Regions from separate parts of the Homo sapiens genome. Here all the other regions are linked to region 2. The links are contacts of gene promoters, found by promoter capture Hi-C in blood cells and fetal thymus (Javierre and others, 2016). All regions are on one chromosome and are shown on one strand. Each heading gives the region's core, a stretch centred on a gene start or on the middle of the fragment in contact. The rest is flanking DNA. Distances are from core to core; before and after follow the strand shown. Region 1 holds the start of HOXB5 (homeobox B5). Region 2 holds the start of NFE2L1 (NFE2 like bZIP transcription factor 1). Region 3 overlaps HOXB-AS4 (HOXB cluster antisense RNA 4). Region 4 holds the start of LINC03057 (long intergenic non-protein coding RNA 3057).

What was found. Contacts are between HindIII fragments. The CHiCAGO score rates a contact against its expected background, and 5 or more counts as called.
Region 1: a fragment that was not itself captured here is called in contact with the fragment with the promoter of NFE2L1 in region 2 in 1 of 17 cell types (total CD8 T cells); the score reaches 5.1 in total CD8 T cells.
Region 3: a fragment that was not itself captured here is called in contact with the fragment with the promoter of NFE2L1 in region 2 in 1 of 17 cell types (total CD8 T cells); the score reaches 5.4 in total CD8 T cells.
Region 4: a fragment that was not itself captured here is called in contact with the fragment with the promoter of NFE2L1 in region 2 in 2 of 17 cell types (naive CD8 T cells and total CD4 T cells); the score reaches 5.4 in naive CD8 T cells.

What each region holds. Positions count from the first base shown.
Region 1 is chr17:48,590,964-48,594,214 of GRCh38, reverse strand. It overlaps HOXB5 (homeobox B5), which reads left to right and starts at 436. Exons shown (of 2, transcript NM_002147.4): 1 at 436-1,094; 2 at 1,759-2,958. The coding sequence starts at 533. The coding sequence ends at 2,006. The region is part of intron 1 of HOXB-AS3 (HOXB cluster antisense RNA 3); the gene reads right to left. RefSeq lists enhancers at 228-297, 1-506 and a silencer at 763-812. The HindIII fragment of the contact is 1,687 bases long and covers 1,081-2,767 here.
Region 2 is chr17:48,046,899-48,050,539 of GRCh38, reverse strand. It overlaps NFE2L1 (NFE2 like bZIP transcription factor 1), which reads right to left and starts at 2,181. Exons shown (of 6, transcript NM_003204.3): 1 at 2,078-2,181. NFE2L1-DT (NFE2L1 divergent transcript) reads left to right here and starts at 2,487. Exons shown (of 2, transcript NR_170231.1): 1 at 2,487-2,915; 2 at 3,570-3,641. It also overlaps a transcript of COPZ2 not described here. RefSeq lists a silencer at 1,772-2,051 and enhancers at 1,602-2,203, 2,462-2,701, 2,204-2,805, 2,772-2,961, 2,806-3,409. The HindIII fragment of the contact is 11,044 bases long and covers 1-3,641 here.
Region 3 is chr17:48,629,281-48,632,797 of GRCh38, reverse strand. The region is part of intron 1 of HOXB-AS4 (HOXB cluster antisense RNA 4); the gene reads right to left. MIR196A1 (microRNA 196a-1) reads left to right here and starts at 239; the gene lies at 239-308. The HindIII fragment of the contact is 1,917 bases long and covers 754-2,670 here.
Region 4 is chr17:48,645,086-48,648,780 of GRCh38, reverse strand. It overlaps LINC03057 (long intergenic non-protein coding RNA 3057), which reads left to right and starts at 1,929. Exons shown (of 2, transcript NR_186590.1): 1 at 1,929-2,176. LINC02086 (long intergenic non-protein coding RNA 2086) reads right to left here. Exons shown (of 8, transcript NR_189645.1): 1 at 2,419-3,695. RefSeq lists enhancers at 1,136-1,345, 2,236-2,285, 1,724-2,392 and a silencer at 1,836-2,015. The HindIII fragment of the contact is 5,086 bases long and covers 1-3,695 here.

The sequences.
Region 1 (3,251 bases), core at 675-3,174, 540 kb before region 2:
GTGGGTAAAAAGCCCAACCCCTGCTCTAAAAGGCTCAACCCTGTGGCTGAGCCTTGGCCGGGTTTCTTTCTCTCCCGGCGACTGCAGGGAGCCTGCAGGGAGCCAGCAGGGAGGCAGCCGCCCGCCGCCATGGCGGTCTCACGCCCGCGCTCCCGTCGGTCGCCGGGAGGTGGCGCGCTCTGCTCAGAGGCCAAAGCCAACCTTCTCTCTGTTTCTCCCCCTTCTCCTTTTTTCCCCCTCTCTCGGAGGCTCGCATTGAATCGGCCCTAACGATTCTCGGATCGTCATTATTTGTAACCATAGAGCATGAATTACCTCTTGAGGTCATCAGCGAGAATTTACGACTGGTCAACAAAAGCACGTGATTCCCTAACGCCCCCCACCCCCCTTCCAACCCCCCCCCCATATTTGGCCGCATACATAGCAAAACGAAGTACAGTGCATCGCTATAATTCATTAATACATCATAAATCGTGAAGCACAGGGTTATAACGACCACGATCCACAAATCAAGCCCTCCAAAATCACCCAAATGAGCTCGTACTTTGTAAACTCCTTCTCGGGGCGTTATCCAAATGGCCCGGACTATCAGTTGCTAAATTATGGCAGTGGCAGCTCTCTGAGCGGCTCTTACAGGGATCCCGCTGCCATGCACACCGGCTCTTACGGCTACAATTACAATGGGATGGACCTCAGCGTCAACCGCTCCTCGGCCTCCTCCAGCCACTTTGGGGCGGTGGGCGAGAGCTCGCGCGCCTTCCCCGCGCCCGCCCAGGAGCCCCGCTTCAGGCAAGCGGCTTCGAGCTGCTCCCTGTCCTCGCCCGAGTCCCTGCCCTGCACCAACGGCGACAGCCACGGCGCCAAGCCCTCTGCTTCGTCCCCCTCCGACCAGGCGACCTCAGCCAGCTCCAGCGCCAATTTCACCGAAATAGACGAGGCCAGCGCGTCCTCGGAGCCTGAGGAAGCGGCAAGCCAGCTAAGCAGCCCCAGCCTAGCTCGGGCGCAGCCAGAGCCCATGGCCACCTCCACAGCCGCGCCCGAGGGGCAGACTCCGCAAATATTCCCCTGGATGAGGAAGCTTCACATCAGCCATGGTAATTCTCTCTCTCTTTTTTGTCTTCTCGGCTTTCCTTCTCTGCGTTTTGGGGTGGGATCGGGGGGACAAGGAGAGCTTGGCTTTACCCTAAATATAGATTCATTTTTCTAAGGGGGAGAAGTATCTAAGAGGGGCCTCATAGCTTCGTAGACAGAGCCAAAAAGGGTCTCTCTGTTAAGAGGGGGGTATTTTTAATAATTTGTTTCCAGCTTCGGCTTAGGTTTTTATTAGCGCAGCTGAACCAGCTTTAGGATAAAGGATGGGGTTCATATAATGTGGGGAAGGGTCCTGCTTACCCCTGAAATTTTGAGACTGTCGCTAGCAAAGAAGGGGTGAACAGTAAAAGGAGCTTTCCGGGGCAAAAGTGCAACCGCTCTCCTCCCTCCCGGGGCGAGCGGCCGCCTGAGCCCAGCCAAGGGTGAGGCACTAGGAGCGAGCAAGAGACAAAGCCGGGCGCACTGGCTGCCTGCAGAAGTGGGGGATGCAGTAGAAAGGGGTGCAGAAATCGAGCTTGAATGTGGGCATCTGGAGTAGAGAGGATTGGAGCTGTGGTGAGCTGGGTGCCGGGACGCCTGGGTCCTGCTCCCCCGCCCCCTCCCACCCAGTGCCCCCTCCCTTAACCGGAATAATGTTGCCTTGCGGCTTTCCTCTATCTGCTCCAGATATGACCGGGCCGGACGGGAAAAGGGCCCGGACCGCGTATACCCGCTACCAGACCCTGGAGCTGGAAAAGGAGTTCCACTTCAACCGCTACCTGACCCGGCGACGGCGCATCGAGATCGCCCACGCACTCTGCCTGTCCGAGCGCCAGATCAAGATCTGGTTCCAGAACCGGCGCATGAAGTGGAAGAAGGACAACAAATTGAAAAGTATGAGCCTGGCTACAGCTGGCAGCGCCTTCCAGCCCTGAGCCCGCCCAGAGGAGCCCAGCGGCCCAAGAGCCCGTGCCACCCCCAGCCCTGGCCCCTCCAATCCTCCCCGCTCTGCCGCCGCCCGCTGGGGACCGGTTCCCACAAGCCTGCCTCGCCTTGTGTTACGATATTTCGTTTGGTCTTAGGTCTTCCTGTGGCTCCCTCTCTCCTGGACTGGTTATCTTGTTATTATTGTTAATAATAATTATTATTATTATTTTCCTTCCATGCTCCCAACTCCCTTCTGCTTGTCCCAAATCCGCCAGTGTTTCTGAATGTTTGTGTCTGTGGTTGCAGTCTTTCCCCCAGGAAAAAAAAAAAAAGAAATTCGCATGTTTAATGTGAACTCTCCCCTCCCCATCTGTGTTCTAACTTATTTATAAAAAGATGATCGCTGTATTTTGAGTTTCAGCTGGAAACTTCTGTAAGGGGCAGCAGTTGAGGTGGGGTAGTGCCGCAGTGGGGTCAAGCTGAGCTGGCTTCGGAGATGGAGTCCCTTTTCATTCTCCTCCTCCTCCCTCCTCACTCCCTAGGCCCAAGTCTCCTAGGGGCTTGGTCCTAGGGTGGGAAGGGGCTAGGGAGGACCAAAGGGATGGTATTGAGAAGAGAGAAAGAAGATAGTGAGATTTAAGTTCCTGCTGCCTGGGTAGGCCCCACAAGGCCTGGTCTGGGAGTATACGGAAACAAAAATGATCCTCAGTGCAAAATGTCTTGTGTATTTCTCTGTGAATCCATGGGTCTGGCTAGAGGGCCCAAAGCTTGTAAATATGGGGATAGTCTGGGTCAGACCCATCTCTCCCTTACCCATCTTGCTTCCAAGACCATTTGTAGTGAGCGAGTGGATGCTGTGCTACGTGTGAAATCTGTCTTTGCGGGGCCTGTCTCAGTGATTCGCTTTTGGTATTTGTTTGTAGCTTTCCTGGAAGTCAAATAAATGTTTCCCCCACTCCATTGCCCTTCCACTTGTCTTTTCTCCGAGGGGTCTGCCTCTCCCATCCCGGGCACACCCTGCACCATTCTCAATAGATCTGGGGTGCAGGGAAGAAAAAGTAGGCTGCTCCCCAACAACTCTTCTCAGCCATGTAAGTCACTGGCTTGGTCAACAGTGCTTGGGCCAGGGAACAGACCTTCATGCCTGGGGGACTCCAAGGCCCAGAAACCCCATGTGGGGCTGGGGCAGAGGAAAGGCTGAGCTAGACTTCATCCTGGTCTTCCACTAGCTGGCCAAGGAAGCCTCTGGAAAA
Region 2 (3,641 bases), core at 932-3,431:
AAACCTTCACAGTAGAAGGTAGAAAACACATTCAAAGGACACTTTCACTTTTTTTTTTTTTGAGACAGAGTCTCACTCTGTCGCCCAGGCTAGAGTGCAGTGGCGTGATCTGTGCTCACTGCAACCTCCACCTTCTGCATTCAAGCGATTCTCCTGCCTCAGCCTCCCAAGTATCTGGGATTACAGGCGCCTGCCACCACGCCCTGCTAATTTTTGTATTTTTAGTAGAGATGGGGTTTCACTATGTTGGCCAGGCTGGTCTCAAGCTCCTGACCTCAGGTGATCTGCCCGCCTCGGCCCCCCAAAGTGCTGGGATCACAGGCGTGAGCCACTGTGCCTGGCCTAAAGGCCACTTTTACAGGAAGAAAGGACTACTTACACTCTCAGAAAAAAAACCCAAAATATAGCAACCGATCATAGAAGAACTATCAAAGAAAGCTACTGATCACGAATGATCTCAGTTACTGAATATTAAATGTGCAATATCCTAAAATGTAGCTTGGTTTGAATAAGCAGACAATAACCAGGTCATCCAAAATATCTTACACCTTTGTTTTATTTACCAGCCCTCCTCCCCCACTACAGGCGCATTACCCAGCTTCTATTTTCACATGAGAAGCCCATTTCCTGTCTTAAAAGTAAAGCTGGATTTTCACCCCTCGGGAGAAAACCACCCATAACAGTTGTCTTTTCTCAGTTCAAAAAGGCAAGATTATTAAACAGTGAGAGTGTGGAAGGACAAAAGGACAATGTTCAGGCCACCACTTCACCCAGAAGAAGAATGCCTTTTGTTTTCTGAACTTTGAAATCTGATTTCCCTTTCCTATCCTCACAACTTACAAAAGAAAAAAAAGGAAAAGGGCCGACGCCTGTAATCCCAGCACTTCGGGAGGCCGAGGAGGGCGGATCACCCGAGGTCGGGAGTTTGAGACCAGCCTGAACAACATGGAGAAACCCCATCTCAACTAAAAATACAAAAATTAGCCGGGCGTGGTGGCGCATGCCTGTAATCCCAGCTACTCGGGAGGCTGAGACAGGAGAATCGCTTGAACCCAGGAAACGGAGGTTGTGGTGGGCCGATATCGCGCCACTGCACTCCAGCCTGGGCAACAAGAGCAAAACTCCGTCTCAAAAAAAGAAAAAAAAGAAAGAAAAGAAAAGGAAAGAAAAAAAGGAGAGGGATGGTGGGGGCCCTACTACGCAGGACTATTCCGTCCAGAATTTGCATAGGCAGGTTTTATTTTCATTCATATGACCTTCTGAGCCAAAGCAGAAGGATATGGCCACGTTCTCTAGCCAGACTGCCCAGTGCAGAGGAAGTAAATCTGTTTCTGGTCTCCACTTTTGAGCTTCCATTAATGTCACAAACCAAGACATACCGCCTCTCCTCTCCTGCGTTGTGACCCATCTACCAACTTCATTCTACAGGGGGAGAGCGAGCTATACGTACACACACGAACGTGCGCACACACACACACTCACACTCCCTCTCTCTGGTCAGAGTAAACACAATTGCGACCCAGAATTCCTGCTTACGCTACCCTCCCGTTCTCACGCAATTTATTACTAAAACCTCCCAGGAGCCAATTAAGTTCGAGGAACCGGACAAAGTCCCTTAAAAATCAAGTAGGTGCAGGGCCCATAGCCTGAGGCTGGTCCCACCCTGCCCGGATACCCGAGTCCGGCTGAGACCAAGTCGCCATGCCCACTCTCGGCGCCGGAGCTTCTAGCCTCCAGGGGCGGCCAGCGAACAAGTGCTACTTCCCTGGCCTTGACCCACCCTTACAGCAAACCCCACCCCGCCCTCCGTCCCGATGGCCCCACCCCACTCCCAAGTCCAGGCCTCACACCACGCCTTCTCGTGCCCTCAACCCTGCCCAGTCCATCCCACCCCGGAGCCAGCTTTCCTCTCGGCCCCGCGCGGGGCCCCTCCCTGTCAGGCCCAGGGCCGGGCTCTGGCGGGAACCCCGCTCGGCCCCCGCCTCCTGCACCTCAGCACCATCCCGTCGCCCCATAAGCCTCGGCCCCGCGGCGCTGCAACCCTCCCTTCTGGGAAAGGAATGTGCCCGATACCCACTGCTTAGCTCGGCGTCCGCCGCTGCCTCCACAGCAGGCCCTAAGCCCGAGTCCCGGCCTCGCCGCCGCCACCGCCGGCCGGCCTAGAGCTCGGAGCCTCCGCTTACCTCCCCGCCCCCTCCTGCTACCGCACTCGGAAACCCGCCCGCCGCAAACACCCTAGGAACAGTTTCTCCAATCAACGAGCCGAGGCCGGGGCCGTCGACGGATGTCCCTCTGATTGGCAGCAGAGAGGGCCCAATGGCTGAGTGTACCTCCTCATCCCCGGACCTGATTTCCCAAGACTGACATAATTCCCGGCCCAATGAGTACCTAGGCCCGCCCCGCGGTATGGACCCACCAATGAGGAGGGCGAAGGCCCTAGTGTCTGGCATTCTGGGCCCCTCGGCCGCGCCTTCGCGGCGGGCGATGTTAGTGGGCTTGGGCGTTGGGTGAAGTATCCAGGTTGGGCGCTTCCAGCGCTTTCTGTGGCGGGGGAATGAAGGCCTAGGTCAGGGAATAGGAAGGTGTATCGCCGCCAGAGTGCGGAACACCCTCGCCTTGAGGGTTCCCACAGTGACTTGCAAAAGTCTAGTGAGACCCGAGAATGCTGAGGCGGGACACGAAGCATGTGGTTCTTGTGGTTGCGACGCTCGTGCCGCCATCTTGGGTGCTGGCGGCGGAAACCGGTACCCCAACTTCCCCTCGGTGCGAACCTGGAGAAGCCACCCCAGCTGTGAGGGACGGTTGCGCCTCATGGCCCAGGCAAGGGTACCTTCGCTGGAGCAGTACCGCGGACGGATATCATGAGGGTGGTGGGACGTTGGCGGAACGTTGGCGGAACGTTGGCGGTGTGAGAGGTGTGGGGTAATGGCGATTTTTGTCATGGTAGAAACAGCCCAAAGGACCCCCCTCGTTTGGCCTCCCACGCAGCTTAGTCTTGCTTTTTTAGGGATGTTTCTCATTTTTTAATTTCTCCAGTCCCATCTGGTTATATTGCCAAAACATGTTTGTGACTCTCAAACGTTAGTTTACTCCCAGCATCACTTGGGGAGCTTGCTAAGCTACGAATTCCGAGGTCCCACTGGAGAGTCTGATTTAATGACCCTGGAGTGGCGGCCGGATAACCTGCCTGCTGGGGTGATTTTAACGCAGCTGATGCGAAGACCCCATTTAGGGAATCATTGGGTTGGCGTTTGCAATGCGTTCCTCCCAGCTATAGGACAAAGAGGTGTCAACTCAACTGTGTCTTCTTAGAAGAGCCCATTATTTATAGGTGAGTCATTAGTCCCTGTACAACTAAGGACAAGGCCAACTGATAACTCAGTAAATAATCGAGTCCATTTTGTGCTTGCGAGTTAGGGGCTTAATTTGGGGTGGTTTGCAGATTAAGTACTTTCACTGCATATAATAAACGTACACCAGCAAACCACTCATGGAATTCTTAAAAAAACTTCTGAGCTAGTTTACCAGTTTCAAAGACTAATTCAGAGAGCATGTTTTACCTATTCTAGGCTGGACTGGAACTCCTGGACTCAAGCGATCTTTCCATTTATCAGGGACTACTGACGCGTGTCTCCCAATAA
Region 3 (3,517 bases), core at 463-2,962, 580 kb before region 2:
GCTCCTGGAAGGCAGCAAATGTCTCTGGAATCTGAGCTATCAGGACCGGCTCCAAAATGGTTTTACCTAGAGTCCTGGGTTCAGTTCTTCCGATGTGTTGTTTAGTAGCAACTGGGTTCTTCTGTTGGGGAAGAGGTGGAGCAAAATGAAGTTAAGCCGCTTTTTGGCCCACAAAAAAATGGCCACAGGGTTTGCCCCCAGTGAGCTCTTGACCTAGAGCTTGAATTGGAACTGCTGAGTGAATTAGGTAGTTTCATGTTGTTGGGCCTGGGTTTCTGAACACAACAACATTAAACCACCCGATTCACGGCAGTTACTGCTCCTTGCTTAGCTGGAGGAGTTGGGGGAGGGGAGCAGAATCAGGACTGGAAGATCAACCTTGCAAAATGGGGAAGAGGTTTGAGGTCCTTCATCCAGGAGCAACAAGGATGTTCCCCCAGAGAAGAGATCTGGGAAGTGTCTTCCCACTTCTGAATGTTTTTTTGTGTGTGTGTTAGGAGGGGAAGGGGGATGAGGAGCAGTCAACTCTCCCGAGGCACCTCCCTGGCCCTGTTGGGCTGTTCAGCCCAACCCAAAGATGGCAGTCAGAGCTCCAACTTCCAGCCTTAGGGTCTCTGAGCTCTCAACTACATCCAGAACTTTCCAGAGAAACTCTCCCCAACTTCACAAATATTTGATTTCAAAAGAAATGCAGGGGGTTCTTGAGGTTTTTGTAACTCTTTGCGGGCTGGTGCTCCACCTCAGCAGGAAGCTTCAGGTCCTTGAAGAGGGCTCAGTAGGTCTCATTCTGAAAGGCAAACACTGAGAGCTCTTGCAATCTCAGCCTAAAGCCCTCAGGGTCCTGTCGAAGGCCCCCTATGGGACCAGACCTACAGAAGTAGGTCCGAAAAGTCCTTCCTTTCCTAATCCCTCAGTTGACTTTTTCCTCCCCACCCACCCCAGTGGCCAAAGGCTTCCCACTGGCCTTGGGCTGGGCTGGGGGTACACATAGGTCCTGAGTGCCACCTCCTTGGAGAGGGGCCTGACTTGCAAGCTAATGGGGAGCCCAGGTTGTTGGACAATTCAACCCCGACTGATGCAGTGACAAGGGATGAAACCAGGGGTTGGGCAGGGCAAGACTCTGATACCCTCTCTGACCTCGGTCCTCTTAAGGCTGTTGGCCCTGTGCCCAGGAAAGGAATAACTAGAAGTGCTGGTGGAAGAAGGGGGACTTTCCAAAGCATAAGCTAACTTTTGTTCCCAAACCTTCCCCCTGCTGCTTGAGGCAGAGGAAATGTGCAAAGGGGCCCGGGAAAGAGGCCCGACCGGATGGGGCTTCGGCGCCAGGCTGACTTGGAGGGCCAGGGGGTCTCTGAACAAGGGGCTTCTGCTAGAGCAGAGGGGCATTAGGGAGACCCACCCCTAGCCTAGGGGAAATGGAGCCTTCAACCCACTGTCCTGATAAGCAAAGGCTAACAACTCTGTCCCTTGACAGTTTCTCATCCTCTGGTCTGGGTGGAGATGGCCTGGCGCGTCCCTGCGGCCTTATCTCACTTCTCCCTGGGCCTCTCACAAACCTGCCCAGTCACTCAGAGCCTGACTGTCTTCCATCCCTGGTGTCCCTTGGCCACCCCCTCCCAGGAAAAGTGCTGTAAAAAGAAAAAAGGAGAATGTTAGAGAGAAAGGAGGAAATAAAGTCTTTGGAAAGCAGAGTTTTACAACAGCCACAGGTTTTATGGAAGCAATTTCGTAATAACCTTCTACCTGCTCGCCTCCTTTCCGCCTGCCTGCCGCCCACCCCGTTTGGCCTCCTGGATGCCCCCTCCCAAGGAGTCAGCCACCCCCATCGCCTTGGATATCCTTGATGGCTGAGAGTTGGTAAGAAGATTCCTGAGGTGGGCTTGGGCCACTGACCTCTCAGTCCTTCCTTTCACCTCTGACATCCTGGGAGGGAGGTTTGGCAGAAGATTTCATTACTTCACAATTAAGATCCCCACTTGGGGGGTGTGGAAGCACCGAGATTTGAACCTGAGTATGCAGATTCGATGTGATACCTGTTTTGGAGGCCGTTTTGCATAAAGGGTAAGGATTTTGCGATCTTGTGTCCTTTCCCACTGGGGCAAGTGTCCTCATGCCTCACTCTTTCCCAGAGTGGGTCTGGACTGTGATCTTGAGTCTGAAGAAATACCTCTGGTGCTTGGAGACATAGATTTGGGGACTTTTCTAATTTTGTTGTACACAGCAGTGCTTTTGCTTGACCTCCACAGTCACTTTCACACTCGGCTCATCTCTGTCCACCTCTGCTTCATAATTCTGTGAGACACATGTGCTTATAAGTAACTGTGCCTCCACCCCCGCGCTCATCGCTGTCATGAAATAGGCATCACACAATGCACACCGTCCCTGCGGTCTTGGGTAAGAAACACAGTAAAGGATTTTATGGTCAAACAAAGAAGTCACAAAATTTCATAACCTCTTCTGGGCCACTTTGAAGCATTTATTTTACCTTCCAGAGAAACATTTTGGAAAGAAGTTGTCGTAGAATCAACGTAGTGTTAAGTCATATGCACTTGTTTGAGGATACGCTGTATATTTTGCTTGAATATCAAGTCAAGGGACAGATTTTCAAGTGCGACATCTGAATTAGCTAATATTTTATAGCCATAATTCAAGTACACAAATACCCAAGCTTTTGCCTTTTCCATAGGTGTGTGATGGTTATAAAAATGTACACACAACCTTTTGGGTAACTGATCTTCTTACACGAGCAGAATCAGAAACCTCCATCACTCACAGAGGTTATGCATGCATCCACATATGCACGATTAGATCCTGCATACACGAACGCCCAAGCACAGCAAGTTTCATAGTTGGGCAGATTTATTTATTACATATTCTATATACAGTATAGAGCAGAGTGCATTTGCACACTGGGTTCCCCATACAGAAATATTGATTTGAAATATACATATAGGACACACACATCTATTTACATTAAACACGCGTAAATTTCAGCTAAGCTTATTAATTAAAAACAAACTATTTTTCCCCATTCTCACTTATTGTTTTTCTTTCTTCTCCCATTTCCTTCCCTTCCTCTAGATTTTCTCTCTCTTCTTACTGACAAGGACCCTTCCAAAAGTCACCCCCACAGCATAGGCACTCACCGGCTGGTCGGCCTCTGCTCTTCAAACCTCGGCCTCACTGTTGGCTGCTCTGGGCCCCAGTGTGGCCAGGAGCTGCGCTTTTTTCCCTGCTTGCCCTTCTCCAAGCTACCAGCTACTGGCCCCAGCTGTGTTCAGGCGAGGCTCCAGTGCAGGGAATGGCAAAAGGCTGCAAGGGAAGGCAGGGTTTTCCTTCTTTCTGTTTAGGATTGGGGGTGGGGTATGGAGCAGTTTTGCTCTCTTAGGATAAGGTGACCCCCACTGAAGCAACCCCTTTACTAAGTGTCTTTGGAAGCTGGGCTCCAGGAGCCACAATCCTGTTTGCTATCCTCCTTCATGGTGGGTACCATTGTCTGGGGAGAAAACAAGGCTTT
Region 4 (3,695 bases), core at 207-2,706, 600 kb before region 2:
CAAACAAACAAAAAAACAAAAACAAAACAAAACAAAAACATTTTGGAAGCAAAATTTAGTTTTGTCATATTTCTATATTCATGTTTACGTGGATATAGAATAAAATTCCCATTTGGATGCATTTTTCTCTCAGCGGTTCAAGCTCAACAGAACCTGCAAATGAGAGGAGGCTGCAGAAGCAAAGCATAAGAAGACATATCATGGCTAGGAGCCGTGGCTCACACCTCTAATCCCAGCACTTTGGGAGGCTGAGGCAAGCGGATCACCTGACGTCAGGAGCCGAGACCAGCCTGGCCAACATGGTGAAAACCCGTCTCTACTAAAACTACACAAATTAGCTGGGCGTGGTGGCACACACCTGTGGTCCCAGCTACTCGGGAGGCTGAAGTGGGAGAATCGCTTGAACTCAAGAGGCGGAGGTTGCAGTGAGCCGAGATTGCACCATTGCACTCCAGCCTGGGTGACAGATCAAGACTTCATCTCAAAAAAGAAGACACATCAATCCTAAATCTAAATGTGGTACACACCTAGGAAGACACATCAACCTTAAATGTACACACCTAATAACAGAGCTTCAAAAATATATGAAGCACCGAAAATGATAGAATTGAAAGGAGAAATGGACAAATCCACAATTATAGTAAGATATTTCAACAGTTCTCACTTGGTAAAATCACTTGTAAAATCACTCTGCCCATTTTACAGAGGAAAAACTGAGGCCTAAAAGGAGAAGGGGTGGGGGCTGAAGTCAGTGGCAGAGCCAGGCTTAGGACACAGAGCTCAGGCACACCTCTACATGCCCCCTGGACAACCACCTGCAGGAAGGGACTGGATTGTGAGGGGGTGTCCCCAGTCCCATGCAGGTTGAGGAGGAAGCAGGGTCTCAGGGCTGAGGTCAGGGAGGGGGGGCACTCCTTAGAGACCAGACAGCCAGGAATGCCACTGTTTGTCGTAGTTTCACTGATTTTAAGGAGGTTAAACCTCTATTTGGGTCTCAGAAATAAAGAGAAGAGCCTGCAATTCCAGGATAGCACGCTAACGAAGGGCCAAAACGCAAAGGCGTCCTGAGGGCTAAGATGGAAAGTGAAACTTTCAAGCTCCTTCTCTAACCTTGGCCAAGGTCGTTCCCTCTGGGTTCATAGAATAGGGAGGAACCCATGTAAGGCACAGGGAACAGAAGAAAGGAGGCAGGTAGAGGGACAACCTTCAGCCTGGTGCAGCCATCCCGGTCGAACAACCCCAGGCAGGAGCCGCTCGGTGGCCGAGGATGGCGGGAAGTCGCTGGGCTGCGGCTGGGGCGGGAGGTGGGCGGAGGAGGGTCCGGCGCTCTCTTTCTCCGGATTCGGAGCCCTAAGTGTGGATCAGTCGCCTCCCGCCCAGGGTGTGAGCGCCCCCTCCCCTTCTCAGCCTCCTTCGGCCTCGCCCCTCCCTCTCACATTTCCAACTCCCAAGGATAACTTGTCGCTCGCTTCAGACGCCCATGGCTTCTTTCAGCCCCTGGGACTCAGCTTTCTCCTCTACCTCTTTTGTCTATTTGTGCATTTGATGTTTCTCTGGGCGCGCCCTTGGATCTGCTTCTCTCTTGCCTTTTATATTCTCATATTCTCATATTCTCTCTCTCTCTCTCTCTCTCTCTCTCTCTCTCCCTCCCTCCCTCCCTCCCTCTCTCCCTCCCTCTCTCCCTCTCTGCCTCTCTCCCTCTCTCTCTCTTCTCTCTCTCTCTCTCTTCTCTCTCTCTTCTCTCTCTCTCTGCTCTCTCCGGCCATCTGGGCGCTGCTCCTCCGCGCCTCTGGCCTCCCCGCGGCGCGCCAGGCCCATCTCCTCACCAGCCGCTCTGGGATCCGACGGCGCCGTGGGTGGGGGCAGGTGAGACGGCCGAGCCCCGCCCGGGCGGAGGCAGGAAGCGCTCTCGCCTATCCCCCTCCCGGACCCTGTCCTCGCCCGCCACTCACCGGCGCCAGGGGAACGCAGGAGCGTGAGCCCCTTCGCGCCCCCAGCGCCGTCGGCGTCGCTGCCCCAGACACAGACACTGCCTCGAGAGGCCTCACAGAGGCGGGGGCAGAAGGCGGCGACCCAGAGCCGCCACATCCCCCGCCTTGGGCGCCGTCACAGTCCCCAGACGCCCTGGACTCCTGCAGTCTACGAAGACGCGCGGGGGACGGCGTGGTTCCGAGAGGTAGGTGAGGAGGCGGGCGCAGCCCTTCCTCTCGCAGCTGGGGACTGCGGCGTGAAAGGCCCCTCTCCAAGCTGGGCAGCCCCGTGGCCCGAGCTTTCAGGACCAACCGCCCGTGGCAGGCGTGGGCTTCCCGGGGCCACCGGCTTAACCTTGATCTCCAGACCGAGGCAGCTTCCCGGGTAGGGCCTCGGGGCGCACCCGAAAACGCCTTGGCCTCCCTGTCCGCTGGCACCCGACCCTACCTCTCCAACAGGTGTGTGTGTGGGGAAAGGGGGTCGCCTCCCCTCGTTCTACCGGAAACCCTGGCTCCCCAGAGCCGAGTGCTCAGTGCCCCGCCCAGCCTGAGGCCCTGCGTCCTGGGCCTCCTGCTCACAACCCCGGATTCCAGGCGGATGCCGTGAGAGAGGCAAGGGCCAGACGCCCTGAGCAGCCTTGGGGGTGAGGAATCGCTTGGGATGGAAGAAGGGCCACTTTTCCTAACGGAAATTAGGAATTGGCCTGGAACTCTTGGTCTAGACAGAAGCCCCCAGCTCCCCAAGGTGCAGAATCAGCTCTCCCGCGCGCTGTCTCTCTAGCTGCCTCCTGGCGTGGAGGGGGCAGAATACTTGGGGGAGTCTCTTGCTTTGGCTTTTGGGGGCCTCATAGGTTTTCTTCCCCTCTGGACTGTGAGCAGCCTCCTGCCTGAGAGAGCGTGTATCTGAATCTAAGGAATGCCAGGAGACGCCATCTTATTTGAAACCCACACTCACAAAAACGGGGCATGTGCATTTTTGTGGAGGGACCTGTTGTTTATGGGAGTGGGCAGAGGGCATCCAAAGGATTTCAAACTGTATGGACTGACTCATGGGTCAATACAAAAATTATTCGCCTTTGAAAAGGCATGTAAAGAAAAGCAAGCATAAAGGGGTGTGCATCGTGCATCGTGGGTATTGTGGAGTCTGAGAGGAATTAGTAACTCGCCGGAGTCGGCTAGGAATCTTATATGACAGCAACTGTGCCTCTCGGAGTAGTCAAGCACCGTTTAAAGATTGAGGATTTATACAGACATGCGAAAGAGATGTGAAATTATGTGCTCCCAACTGTGCTCAATAATAAAGGCAGTAGAAGGGAAATTCATATTTTCATCTATATGCCTCCCCCCTCGCAAAGTAGAACATTGCATGGTATATTTCACATAGTCCACATACCAGAGGCGGAATGTGCAACTGACTGCCCAGGACTGTGCTTTCCAGTACAAATGGAAGCACAAAGATGCCTAATGGAGAAGAGTTAAGTGAAAGTTCTCTTTTCTCAGTGCACTTCCCTAACCCTTTGAGGAAGCAAGTCTGGGGGGCCTTTCCTGATAGGATCTTCCCTCCAAATCCCTTTTGGAGCTGGAGCTCCTCTCTTTCCCTAAAGTCTGGCGCACTTGGCTCCAAGTCCCCATTTCTCCAGTCCAGAAGGGATGAAGCCTCCTCCACCCCAAACATATAGCCTTTGGCTCGCTGGGAGGAGAATTGCTCACCTTCTGCGGTGGTTT